2 separate regions of the Homo sapiens genome follow, and region 2 is linked to region 1. The links are contacts of gene promoters, found by promoter capture Hi-C in blood cells and fetal thymus (Javierre and others, 2016). All regions are on one chromosome and are shown on one strand. Each heading gives the region's core, a stretch centred on a gene start or on the middle of the fragment in contact. The rest is flanking DNA. Distances are from core to core; before and after follow the strand shown. Region 1 holds the start of TTI2 (TELO2 interacting protein 2). Region 2 overlaps WRN (WRN RecQ like helicase).

Region 1 (6,265 bases), core at 152-2,651:
AAAAAATCAGCCAGGCGTGGTGACGGGCAACTGTAATCCCAGCTACTCCGAAGGCTGACACAGGAGAATCGCTTGAACCCAGGAGGCGGAGGTTGCAGTGAGCTGAGATCGCAACATTGCACTCCACCCTGGGCAACAAGAGTGAAACTCTGTCTCGAAAATAAATAAATAATAAAAAATAAAAATAAAAAACTGTGAGGCTCAAGTCGGTGGCAAAGGGCAGGAGTACTCACTTATACAAGTCGGGTTTGAGAAGCCCTAGTATCACCGAAAGTCTCCCTTTCTCATCTTCATTTTCTCCATGTAGGAATCCTGCCACAGAACCGCATTCAGTAACTTGAAGCAGTGAGGTGAGCACCTCCCTAGCAACTTCCCGAGATCTCGGAGTGGTCCATGGTTGCTCCAAGCTGTGTGTGATGGCAAAAATATAAACGGGTCCTGCCAAGTGATGCAGGCCCGTCTGCCATGCAGGGCCGACCAGGGAATTCTTAGCAGTCTCAACTTTCCCTAACAGTTTAAGAAACAGTAACCCAACTTGGGCTGCTTTCTCGGCCGCTTCGGAGTGCCCATCACCTCCACCTTCCTCCTCCTTGGAGGGGGCTGCATACTTCTCCAGGGCTTTTGCTACCTGCCCCAGTGTCTCCGGCATTCCGCGGAGCCGTGCACCAGTCCCCTCAAATAACCTATCAAATTCTGTGGCTTCTATTAGATCACCGAGGTCTTTAAGAACTGCATCTTTTACATTGCCTCGTCGTGCCTCCGGGCGGGCAAGACAGTGTAAAATCTTGGAGAAGGCCTGTCCAAAGGCGGAGTGAGACAACTCCTCGGACAAATTAGAGTCTTCCTGCGATGGGGCTTCCAGAGCGCTGTCAAGCTCCATTCCTGACTGCAGCACCAGAAGGCTGGTCTCTCCCACAGAACGAGGATGGAGGCGGGGAGGGATCCGTTGAAGAGGGAAGGAGCGATCACCCAAAGAGAACTAAAATCAAATAAAATAAAACAGAGAGATGTCTTGGAGGAGGGGGCGAGTCTGACCGGGATAAGAATAAAGAGAAAGGGTGAACCCGGGAGGCGGAGTTTGCAGTGAGCCGAGATCGCGCCACTGCACTCCAGCCTGGGCGACAGAGTGAGACTCCGTCTCAGTAAAAAAAAAAAAAAAAAAAAGAATAAAGAGGAAAGGACGCAAGAAAGGGAAAGGGGACTCTCAGGGAGTAAAAGAGTCTTACACTTTTAACAGTGACGTTAAAAGACTACTGTTGCCTTTCTGAAGACTAAAAAGAAAAAAAACTTAAAAATTTAAAGAAATAAACTTCTGAGCCATGTCACCAACTTAACCACCCCCAGGTACCTGCAACGGCTCGCGCCCGCCGGTGTCTAACAGGATCCGGACCTAGCTCATATTGCTGCCGCAAAACGCAAGGCTAGCTTCCGCCAGTACTGCCGCAACACCTTCTTATTTCACGACGTATGGTCGTAAAGCAATAAAGATCCAGGCTCGGGAAAATGACGGAGAGGTGGAACTATAGAGAATAAATTTGCATATATAATAATCCGCTCGCTAATTGTGTTTCTGTTTTCCTTTGCTAAGGTAGAAACAAAAGAATAATCACAGAATCTCAGTGGGACTTTGAAAATATCCAGGATTTTATACGTGAAGAATGGATGTATCGCATTACGGTAGTCACCCTATGTGTAAATTAGTGGCACATACTTGGCACTCCTTAATGTCAACTATAAGATGATCCTTTTGTAGTTCATGAGCGTGATGATTGGGTGTTCATACGCTTGTGTGAGATGTGCCACCCTTGAACCTTGTTACGACGTGGGCACATTACCCGTCTGACCTGAACTTCAAGGATCGATTTAACACTTGTATTTGTGGGCTTGTTACTTATGATAACAGGTGGCCTAGTTTCATGGCTTTGTGTTTACCGTTTTCGGGTGCCCTTTTTTCTGGCTGTATGCTACACGCACGGGTGCTTTTCCGTTGTCCAACTGTGTAATGTGTTTTTGTGTTTGTTCTTTTGTGAGTCGGAGTCTCGCGTTGTCGCCAGGCTGGAGTTGCAGTGTTGCGATCTCGGCTCACTGCAACCCCCACCTCCGGTTTTCGAGAGATTGTCCTACCTCAGCCTCCCGAGTAGCTGGGACTATAGGCGCGCGCCACCACGCCCAGCTAATTTTTGTATAAATATTGGCAAGGATGGTCTCGATCTCTTGACCTCGTGATGCGCCCGCCTCGGCCTCCCAAAGGGCTGGGATTACAGGCGTGAGCCACCGCGCCTGGCCAATGCAGAGCTTTTTAATGGCTTTAATTTTTTAGGTTTGGGAGATACCTGCGCAGGTTTGTTACCTGGATATGTTGTGGGATGCTGGGATTTGGAGTGCAGCTTAGCCCGTTTTCATTGCCCCCTCTAGTAGACCACAGTGTCTGTTGTTGCCACTTTTATGTCCACGTGTTCCTAATGTTTAGCTCCCACTTATGAATGAGAGCATGCGGTATTTGGTTTTCTGTTCAATGCAATACTTTAGCTGGTTTCTGGAGCTAGCGTTTTAAAGCCTGTAGCCACAAGCGTTTGAAAATTCAAATTCTAGCGTCAAGGTAGAAGCCCCCAGCTGGCGTCTGGGGCAGCCCTGAGGGAGGTGGGTCGTCGGGTTGGCGGATCCGGCTTGGGCCCGCCCCGCCAGTGTCGGCGCCGGGTGCGCAGGGACAGCAGAGCGCTGTCTTGGGCATGGGTCGCAGGCGGCGCCCGGAACGGGCCAGGGGAGCTGGAGGCTGCAGACTCGGGCTCGGCGGGTGTAGGAACCAGTGGTGTTTGCTTGGGTTTTGAGAAGGCGCGAGAAGGGTCGCGCCTGTGCGACCGCCCTGTGTTGGGTCCCCCACGCCGCGTCGGCATTGCTTGTTCCCTCTTCCTGCGCTTTCCTGGAGGGTAGAATTGCGTCCGATTGGCCTTCAGTTCCCGAGGAGCTGCTTCCATTTAGGACCTTGTGACTCTCATAGCTTCCACGGTTTCGCAGGAGCCCGAGGAGGCAAACTTCATTTGTGCCACTGCACAGGCGGGAGCTTCGGACCCTGGGAGGGGTGGCGCGAGAGAGACGTGTCGCCAGCTGCTCGGAGAGGGACTCTTATTCAGCCTCTAAGGCGTCAATTGCGCCTCCAGGGTTCCAGGAGTCCAGAGAAAGCCCTTCGGGGTCTTCTGACCTGGGGTAGGGTGAGGGGCGTGTGTGCGCGCAGGGGCGAGGGAGGGGTGACGTGTCAGGTGTCCTTTGTCCTCGCGAGGAGGTGGTTATGGGGTAGAGGGACATACAGTATTTTCGTCCCACCTTGGGGAGCGCACCAGCTTCTTGGTGCACTACTTGCAACTGTCCCATCTGCGGTGTCTTGCTGCCTACTCGCCTGCCCTTCTTTCCATTTTGCTGTCTGACCTTGGGCAAAAGTTCGGTAGCCTCTCTGTGCCTTCATTTCTTTTTATTTTTTATTTAATTAAAAAATATTTTTTTAGAGACAGGGTCTTGCTCCGTGGCCCAGGCAGGAGTGCAGTGGCGTCATCGTATCTCACTGCAGCTTCAAACTCCTGGGTTCAAGCGATCCTCCCGCCTCAGTCTCCCAGTAACTGGGACCACAGGCGCGCCCTACCACACCCTACTAATATTTTCTAATTTTTTTGTAGAAATGGGGTCTCGCTGTATTACCCAGGCTAATCTCGAGCTCCTGGCCTCGCGATCCTCCCTCCTTGGCCTCCTAAAGCGCTTAGATTACAGGTGTGAACCACCCACCTCGCTGGTGCCTTAATTTTTTTTTTCTTTTTCTTTTATTTTTCCTTCCTTCCTTCCTTCCTTCCTTCCTTCCTTCCTTCCTTCCTTCCTTCCTTCCTTCCTTCTTCCTTCTTCCTTCTTCCTTCTTTCTTTTCTTTCTTGTCTCCCTGTCGCCCAGGCTGGAGTGCAGTGGTGTGATCTTGGCTTATAGCAACCTCTGCCTCCCAGGTTCAAGCGATTCTCATGCCTCAGCCTCTCGAGTAACTGGGATTACAGGCACCCACCACGCCCAGCTAATTTTGTATTTTTACCAGACACGGAGTTTCACCATGTTGGCCAGGCTGGTCTCTAAATCTTGACCTCAAGTTATCCACCTGCCTTGGCTTCCCAAAGTGCTGTGATTACAGGCGTGAGCCACCTCGCCCAGCCACCTTAATTTCTTTATCGGAAAAATGCAGGTAGTAATAATTCGTACCACTTAGGAGTGTTGTGAGAAAGGAATTATATGTAAACTGCTTAGAACAATATCTGGTCAGCAGAAAGTTCTACATAGGTGTTGGCTCATGTTAAACCACAGCTCCTGTGTTGTTACATTTCCTCTTTCCAGGGTAATTTTGTGGTTAGGACCCTCCCTCTCGGCCTCTTTCATTCAGCTTTCCCTTCTCTGACCAATTGGTGGCACTCATGATTTTTTAAGCAATTTCAACCACTGGTAACCATCTCCTCCCGAGGGGACTCTCCTGTTTGCAGGCCCAAGTGGAAGCAAGATGCCAATAAATAGACAGTTATTGTGTCCCTCCTGTGTGCAAGCGTCTCTTCCCTGTTCCATGTGCCCCTTGTGCTAAGTGGACCCAAGCTATTACTTCTTATAAGGAAAGCACTTGTATTGTGGAGATCTCCCCATCTGCACTTCTGAGTTTCCTGAAGCCAGAGACCACGTCTTTATTCCCAGTGCCTGGCACAATTTGGTCATGCAATAAATGTTTGTTGAACCCACACATCCATCCACAGAGGACTGGCTGAATAAACTATGTATATCCACACAATGCAGTTTTATGCCGCTGCACAGAGGAAAGAGAACCATCTCTGTGGACTGCCTTGGAAATCTAGGATGTATTGTTAAGTGAAAAAAGCAGGACAGAGACCATGTGTATGTTGCCTTTATTTTTATTTTTCCCCCTTTTCACACGTGTTGAAATGCTGCCTTTCTTGTAAGAAAGATGGGAAAATAGAAATAATGATGTGTGCATTTGCTTACATGTTAAAGATGCAATAGAGTGTAAATTATAAACTAAGAAAAATGGTTATAGGTAAGAAAAGAACGGGGTGAAGGAAATAGGAATGGAAGCTAGATTTCTCTGTATACACTGTGTTTAATAGCTTCAACTTTGGATTCATGTAAATTTTTTTGTTGTTGTTGAGATAGAGCCTCACTCCAGTCCAGGCTGGAGTGCAGTTGTGCGATCTCGGCTCACTGCAGCCTCTGCCACCCCGGGTTCAAGTGATTCTCCTGCCTTAGCCTCCCAAGTAGCTGGGATTACAGGCGCCTGCCACCACACACGCCTGATTTTTGTATTTTTGGTAGAGATGGGGTTTTACCATGTTGGCCAGGCTGGTCTGCAGCTCATGACCTCACGTGATCCACCTGCCTCGGCCTCCCAAATTGCTGGGATTACAGGCATGAGCCACCGCACCCGGCCACATAATTTTTATTTTTTTTTGAAGCAACAAAAGCAGAGACGTATTGAAAATGAAAGTATACTCCTCAGGGCAAGAGTGGGCCAAAGCAAGCAGCTCAAGAGCCTACATAACTATTTTTTTAAAAGAAAATAACAAAGCATTTCCTAAAAGAAAAGAAATAAAGAGTACATTGAGTCACTGGCATAACCACACAAATTAACTGTAAAACTCATTAATTTGACTCTATATCCTTAGTGTGACAAAGCCTAAAATCAGAAAAAAATCAACTGCATTTAATAATGGTATACTGTTGGTAATATTAATATTGTTTAGGTGTGTTTCTTTTGGGTTTGTTTATTTGTTTTTTGAGACAGAGTCTCCCTCTTTCGCCCAAGCTGGAGTGCAGTGGTGCGATCTCGGCTCAGTGCGACCTCTGCCTCCTGGGCTCAAGTGATTCTCCTGCCTCAGCCTCCCAAGTAGCTGGGATTACAGGCATGTGCCACCTTGCCCAGCTAATTTTGTATTTTTAGTAGAGACGGGGTTTCACCACGTTGGCCAGGCTGGTCTCGAACTCCTTACCTCAGGTGATCCACCTGCCTCGGCCTCCCAAAGTGCTCGACCCACCGCGCCTGGCCTGTTTAGGTGTTATTACATGTATTTTGTATAACTTATATATGTATATAAGATAACAAGTAACAATATTATTAGAAACCCAGATTTTCAATGAAAGATAAAAGAGATACTAGTATCAAATCAATTAAGTTAGCTATAAATTCTGTAATCTGATTGAGTCACATATTTGAGTAAACAAATCTGTAATCTGAAATTAGAA
Region 2 (5,717 bases), core at 134-2,633, 2.4 Mb before region 1:
GCTGGTCTTGAACTCCTAAGCTCAAGCAATCTTCCCGCCTCAGTCTCCAAAGTTCTGGCACTACAGGTGTGAGCCACTGTGCCTGGCCTCTTTTTCTCATTTAAATACTTTTCATACCTTTTGTAAAACGGGTTCCTTGTTGCCTGTCTATGCCTTCCTCCTCCTTCTTAATGACACCACGTTAATTCTGACTGTTTTCCCTTGGCCTGTTGCAGAAGCCTCTTAACTATTAACCCTTCATTCTCTCTCTCTGTTTCATCTGATATATGAGTACCAAACTAAATCTTCCTTTATCATATCTTACTTCTGCTTAAATGTTTTTTTTCTAGCTTAGAATTCAAGGCCCTCTATTTATGAACTTAAACTTACTTTTCCCTCTAAGTTACAGAATTTGAAATGGTTTATCTTACCTGGATTGTTTATCACTTGTTGAAGATCCATTTTCAACTTCCATATATTTATTTACAGTGTTGCTTCTCCTTGTAGTTTCCTTGATTCCTCAAAACTCCTTTTAAGAATTCTTGAAGATCTCGCTTTATTACTATTTCTCGCTTTATTACTGTAAAGACTATGAGAAGGTCTTTCATGATCTTATCAGCAAAGTAATTCCTCTCTCTTGAATTCATAGAGGACTTTCAGATGAATTCTAAAGATGCTTCTGTAGCACTTACCACACAATGCTATATTTTATTTTTTTGTAATTAGTGGTAAACAAGTATTATTATATCTTCTAGATTTTAAACTCCAAATAAAGATACTAGCTCCTTACCTTTTTGTGTGTCTCCTGTAGCACCTAGCACAATGCCTCATAAACAGGAGGTGATCATTAAATATTTAGAAGAAATTATTTCCCAAGAATAGTTGCTTGGTAATTGTATTTGTCTTTTACTTCCTTTTAAAAAATTGTTTCTGTCACTAAATTGCATCCAATAGATGTTACTTGAGTGCAGAATTTTCTAATGACATTACACAGTGCTACATCTGACACTAATTCTTTTGTTAAAAAATAAATATTCTGGCCGGGCGCTGTGGCTCACGCTTGTAAATCCCAGGACTTTGGGAGGCCGAGGCGGGCGGATCACGAGGTTAGGAGATCGAGGCCATCCTGGCTAACACGGTGAAACCCCGTTTCTACTAAAAATACAAAAAATTAGCCGGGCGTGGTGGCGGGTGCCTGTAGTCCCAGTTACTCTGGCGGCTGAGGCAGGAGAATGGCGTGAACCCGGGAGGCGGAGCTTGCAGTGAGCGGAGATCGCGCCACTGCACTCCAGCCTGGGTGACAGAGCGAGACTCCGTCTAAAAAAAAAATAAAAAATAAAAATAAATAAATATTCTAAGACCATACTTTAATAGAGGTGTTTTTTTTTTTTTTTTTTTTTTTTTTTTTTTTTTTTGGTGATAGAGTCTCACTCTGTCACCTAGGCTAGAGTGCAGTGGCGCGATCTCGGCTCACTGCAACCTCCGCCTCCTGGGTTCAAGCAATTCTCCTGCCTCAGCCTCCGGAATAGCTGGGACTACAGGTGCGCGCTGCCACCCCCGGCTAATTTTTTGTATTTTAGTAGAGATGAGGTTTCACTGTGTTGTCCAGGCTGGTGTTGAACTCCTGAGCTCAGGCAATCCACCCGCCCCGGCCTCCCAAATTGTTGGGATTACAGGCGTGAGCCACAGTGCCTGGCCCAGAGGAGATATTTAATGAAAAATAATAATCATTAGATAGGCAGATTTTTAGAAGGAGGGCATCGAATGGGTTCTTGGATATTGGACACAATAAGAAATATTGAGCTAAAAGTCTGAAGGAATTGGCAGATATACTGTTACAGGTAAACACTTTGTAGAAGAAAATAATGAATGAGACTTTCTTTTGAGATTTTCTTAGCCTCTTAGTTGTTCCCAGTTAAAGCCTCATATTTTTCCTTTTCATGACAATAAAAATAATAATAAAATCAGTAATAAAGTGAATATATGAGATGTTAACCTGTTCCTTTATGACAATGTCCTGTTTACCAATTAACAGTGTGTTTTTGTGGTGATGGGGGCAAGACAAATCTTTAAATGGTGGAAAGCAAAGAAAGAAATTATAAAACATGATTAGTTGTATTATACGTTGTTTTTGGTTGTTGGAAAAACTATACATTTATTGAGAGAATCATTAGGAAGCTGAACATCAGCTATATTGCTGGAGTGATACTGTTTCAGTGGTTTCTTGACCTTTTTGTTGTTGTTGTTGTTGTTGTTAAACACAGACCAACTACGGTTGAAAACGTAAAAAGGATTGATGGTGTTTCTGAAGGCAAAGCTGCCATGTTGGCCCCTCTGTTGGAAGTCATCAAACATTTCTGCCAAACAAATAGTGTTCAGGTAAAATACTGTGGTTTGCAGGAGCTCTTAGAGAATAAGCATTTTTTGTAACCATTTCAAAAGTACCCTCCAGAAGCAACATTTGCTCACTTTATTTGCATTTCCATACTGGACACTTAGAAAATGAATTAAAATTGTTTTTACAGTCAATCTGTTGTAAAAACATGTCAGTTATCTACTTTTAAAGATGATACTAAAAAGTAGTTGTCCAGGCTGCTGATGTCTTTCTATTTCATTGGGAGGTTTTGTTTTTAAATTGGAAACATTATTTTAGGTTGATAAATTATAATTTTACATTCAAATGTGGTAGTTGGAATTTAAAGCTGGAAAGTTATCCTTGCTATGAGTTGGTCAGGAGCTCAGCCACTTTCTTTTGGTTTAGCATCTTCTCTAATCTCCCTCCCCTTCCAGTAATGCTGTCTTTTGATAGTAAGTGGATTTCATATTATTCTCTTCAGTTTTAATAGTGTTTCCTTCATATCCTTTTATTATTGCTTGTTCTGCCCTAAGTGACCATTTCCAGAAATGTCATTTAGGATTTTCTCTAAACTCCACGTAGCAGACTCTATAATGCATACTCTGCAGAAGGTGAGGCAGTGGGAGGTAGAGGGGAGACTACTAGACTAGGAGTCACGGAATCAGGACTTTAGTTCTTCCTTACAGTTGTTCACCTGGTGAACCTGCACATGTCCTTTAATTTCCTTGGGTCTCCATTTCCTCAGCTATACAATGGAAATGACACTTCCTCCCCCACATCCAGGAAACAACAGATGACATTAGAAAATAGAAGACATGGGATAAGTATAAAATGTTGAAAGAGTTAAACACATTCAAGGCAATATTAAGGGATTATTTTTTACTTCCAAGAAGCTCCTGGAAGCTTTGGGCAGGCACAGTTGGATCCTACTTTAGAAAAATCTTTCTCTAACTATAAGTAGAAAACCCTTCTGCTTTTTGAATGTAGCATTTCCCTCTTTTGATATAGAGTATCTTTGGCAACTTTGAATTTTCTTTTTCATACTCTTATATAAGACATCATGTGAAAATTCTTATTTCTTACTGAGTTTTTGGAAATGAAATTATAATGTCTTAATAGTTTGAGAAAGAATATCATACCTACCAGCGGTAATTGAGTAAGTTCCCTCTCTTTGGACACTTGAAAGTAGTATCTTCTTTCATGAATTAGTGATATTATTTAATAATGAATGAGTGATCTCTCCTAACTCCCCTTCAGAAGAGGAAAATGAAGTAGGGGAAAAGGTAAATTCCCCAAGGGATAGGTATGAAACCTTTATGAACCTTCTGGATAGAGAAGATGACTGCTGATTTCTGTGATTAGAAATTATACTTGGGTTATTCTGCAAATTGAAATGAATTATTTAAAAAAAAACAACTTTAATGTTTATTAAGCAAGTTTTGTTATTCATGAGTTTCATTAGCCTTTTATTTTTTTTTTAAATTTTGAAGTAAAATTTCTTGCTGTCACAATACACATTAAAAATTACAAATATGACACATATTAAACACATTAAGATGGCCGAATAGGAAAAATATGCTAAAATATTTTTATATAAATACATTTTTTGAGAATTTTGAGAATTTCTGGAACAAAGTAATGATATAATCCATAAATGTACAATTAAAGAGTTTAAGGATATCCAAAATACTTGGCAAAGTAATCTGAAATAATACTCTTAGGAAGGTAGGGCAAGAATGTGATTCTAGTAAGCAAAAATGTGATCAAATCGTATTCTAGTCCCAGCTACTCGGGAGGCTGAGGCAGGAGAATGGCGTGAACCTGGGAGGCGGAGCTTGGAGTAAGCCGAGATCGTGCCACTGCACTCCAGCCTGGGCGACAGAGCGAGACTCCATCTCAAAAAAAAAAAAAGACTATATGAACATGTATGGCATAAATATGTACAAATATTATTTATTTTAAAAAAATTCAGGGGTAGGGACAGGGTAGTTAGAAAATATCTAAGGATGTTCATGAAATAATACTGGCTATGAATGACAGTTGATGAAACCGGGTGGTGCCCATCTTATTCCCTCGACTCGTGTATATGTTTGATATATCCCACAATAAACCTTAAAAAAAAAAAGATGAGTGGTCAATTATAGGAAGATATAAATAGAAAAGGCAATAAGGACAAAAGTTGGCAAAGCTTACCTAAGCACTCTTCAGATAAAAAGACATTTTTGCTAACTAGATTTGAATATTATAGTTTAATTGTCAAGGAAAATGCCTCAACTTAATCTTTGTTAAGAGACTACTTAAGGCACTATCAGAAGTTCCCTCATGGCAAGGTGCAATCCCTCATGCCTGTAATCCCAGCACTTTGGGAGGCCAAGGCAGGCAGGTTACCTGAGGCCAGGAGTTAGAAAACAACCTGGGAAACATAGTGAGACCCGACCTCTACAAAAACAATTTCTTAAAATTAGCCAGGCATGGTGGTGCTAGCCTGTAATCCCAGCTATTTAGGATGCTTAGGCAGGAGGATTGCTTGAGCCCGGGGATTTGAGGCTGCAGTGAGCCATCATTGTGCCACAATACTCCAGCCTGAGTGATAGAAAAAAAAAAAAAAAGTGTCTTTGTTATATTCCAAACTTGTTCTCAACTTTCAGGTGAGCTGGCTTCCTGTATAACTCTTGTATAGGACAGAACATACTGGTTGGGGCAAGTGAAACTGTCTAGTTGTATGCCTCATAAATTAATGAATTTCCTTTCTAATATATACACTGATATTTATACACACATACACATAAAACCAAGCTCAATAGATGGGTAGTGCAGCTCTATTCCCCAAAACCCAACTACCCTGTAACAAGACACATTAGACTTTTGAGATTGCAAGGATGAGGACTGAAATGCTGGCCTAGACCATGGTGTTGCCATAGTGGGGTGACCAGTCTGAATAGCCAACAATGCTTCCTCAGTAAATACCCATTTTGTCTTGGTGGGATTTCTATAAATTGCAAAATGCAGCTATTATGAAGCTGTAAAAGAGAAACAGAAACATGTAACACCTGGGACTGTTTTATTAGGCCCACCGTATGCTCAGAACATGAAATCTCCACTGCTAGGGTTATTTGATTGAAATTATCTTTTGTGTTGATGTGAGAGTTTAGCTCTGAGATTCTTCCACATGTAAAATGTAATCCCCCAAAGTATTTGGCAAGCACATTTTATTGCCTTGGGTCAGATAATTGAAACATTAGGCATCATATATATAGCATGTAAAAAGTAAAACAGAAACATTTATGTTTCTCACCAAGCAGTAAATTAGTACTCAACTAATAAATTTCTTAAACTCCCTAATAACAGAATATGGAAACAAAAAATAAATCTTTCCAAAAGA

The links. The method cuts DNA at HindIII sites, captures the fragments that hold promoters and counts their contacts. A CHiCAGO score of 5 or more calls a contact.
Region 2: a fragment that was not itself captured here is called in contact with the fragment with the promoter of TTI2 in region 1 in 1 of 17 cell types (non-activated CD4 T cells); the score reaches 5.2 in non-activated CD4 T cells.

The regions. Positions count from the first base shown.
Region 1 is chr8:33,511,734-33,517,998 of GRCh38, forward strand. It overlaps TTI2 (TELO2 interacting protein 2), which reads right to left and starts at 1,402. Exons shown (of 8, transcript NM_001102401.4): 1 at 1,349-1,402; 2 at 234-979. The coding sequence starts at 880. SNORD13 (small nucleolar RNA, C/D box 13) reads left to right here and starts at 1,742; the gene lies at 1,742-1,845. RefSeq lists enhancers at 1,434-1,573, 3,094-3,383 and a silencer at 2,004-2,053. The HindIII fragment of the contact is 19,476 bases long and covers 1-6,265 here.
Region 2 is chr8:31,148,098-31,153,814 of GRCh38, forward strand. WRN (WRN RecQ like helicase) reads left to right here. Exons shown (of 35, transcript NM_000553.6): 31 at 2,244-2,358. Among named protein-coding and RNA genes, the nearest start is that of WRN, 120 kb to the left of the region's middle. The HindIII fragment of the contact is 3,706 bases long and covers 1-3,236 here.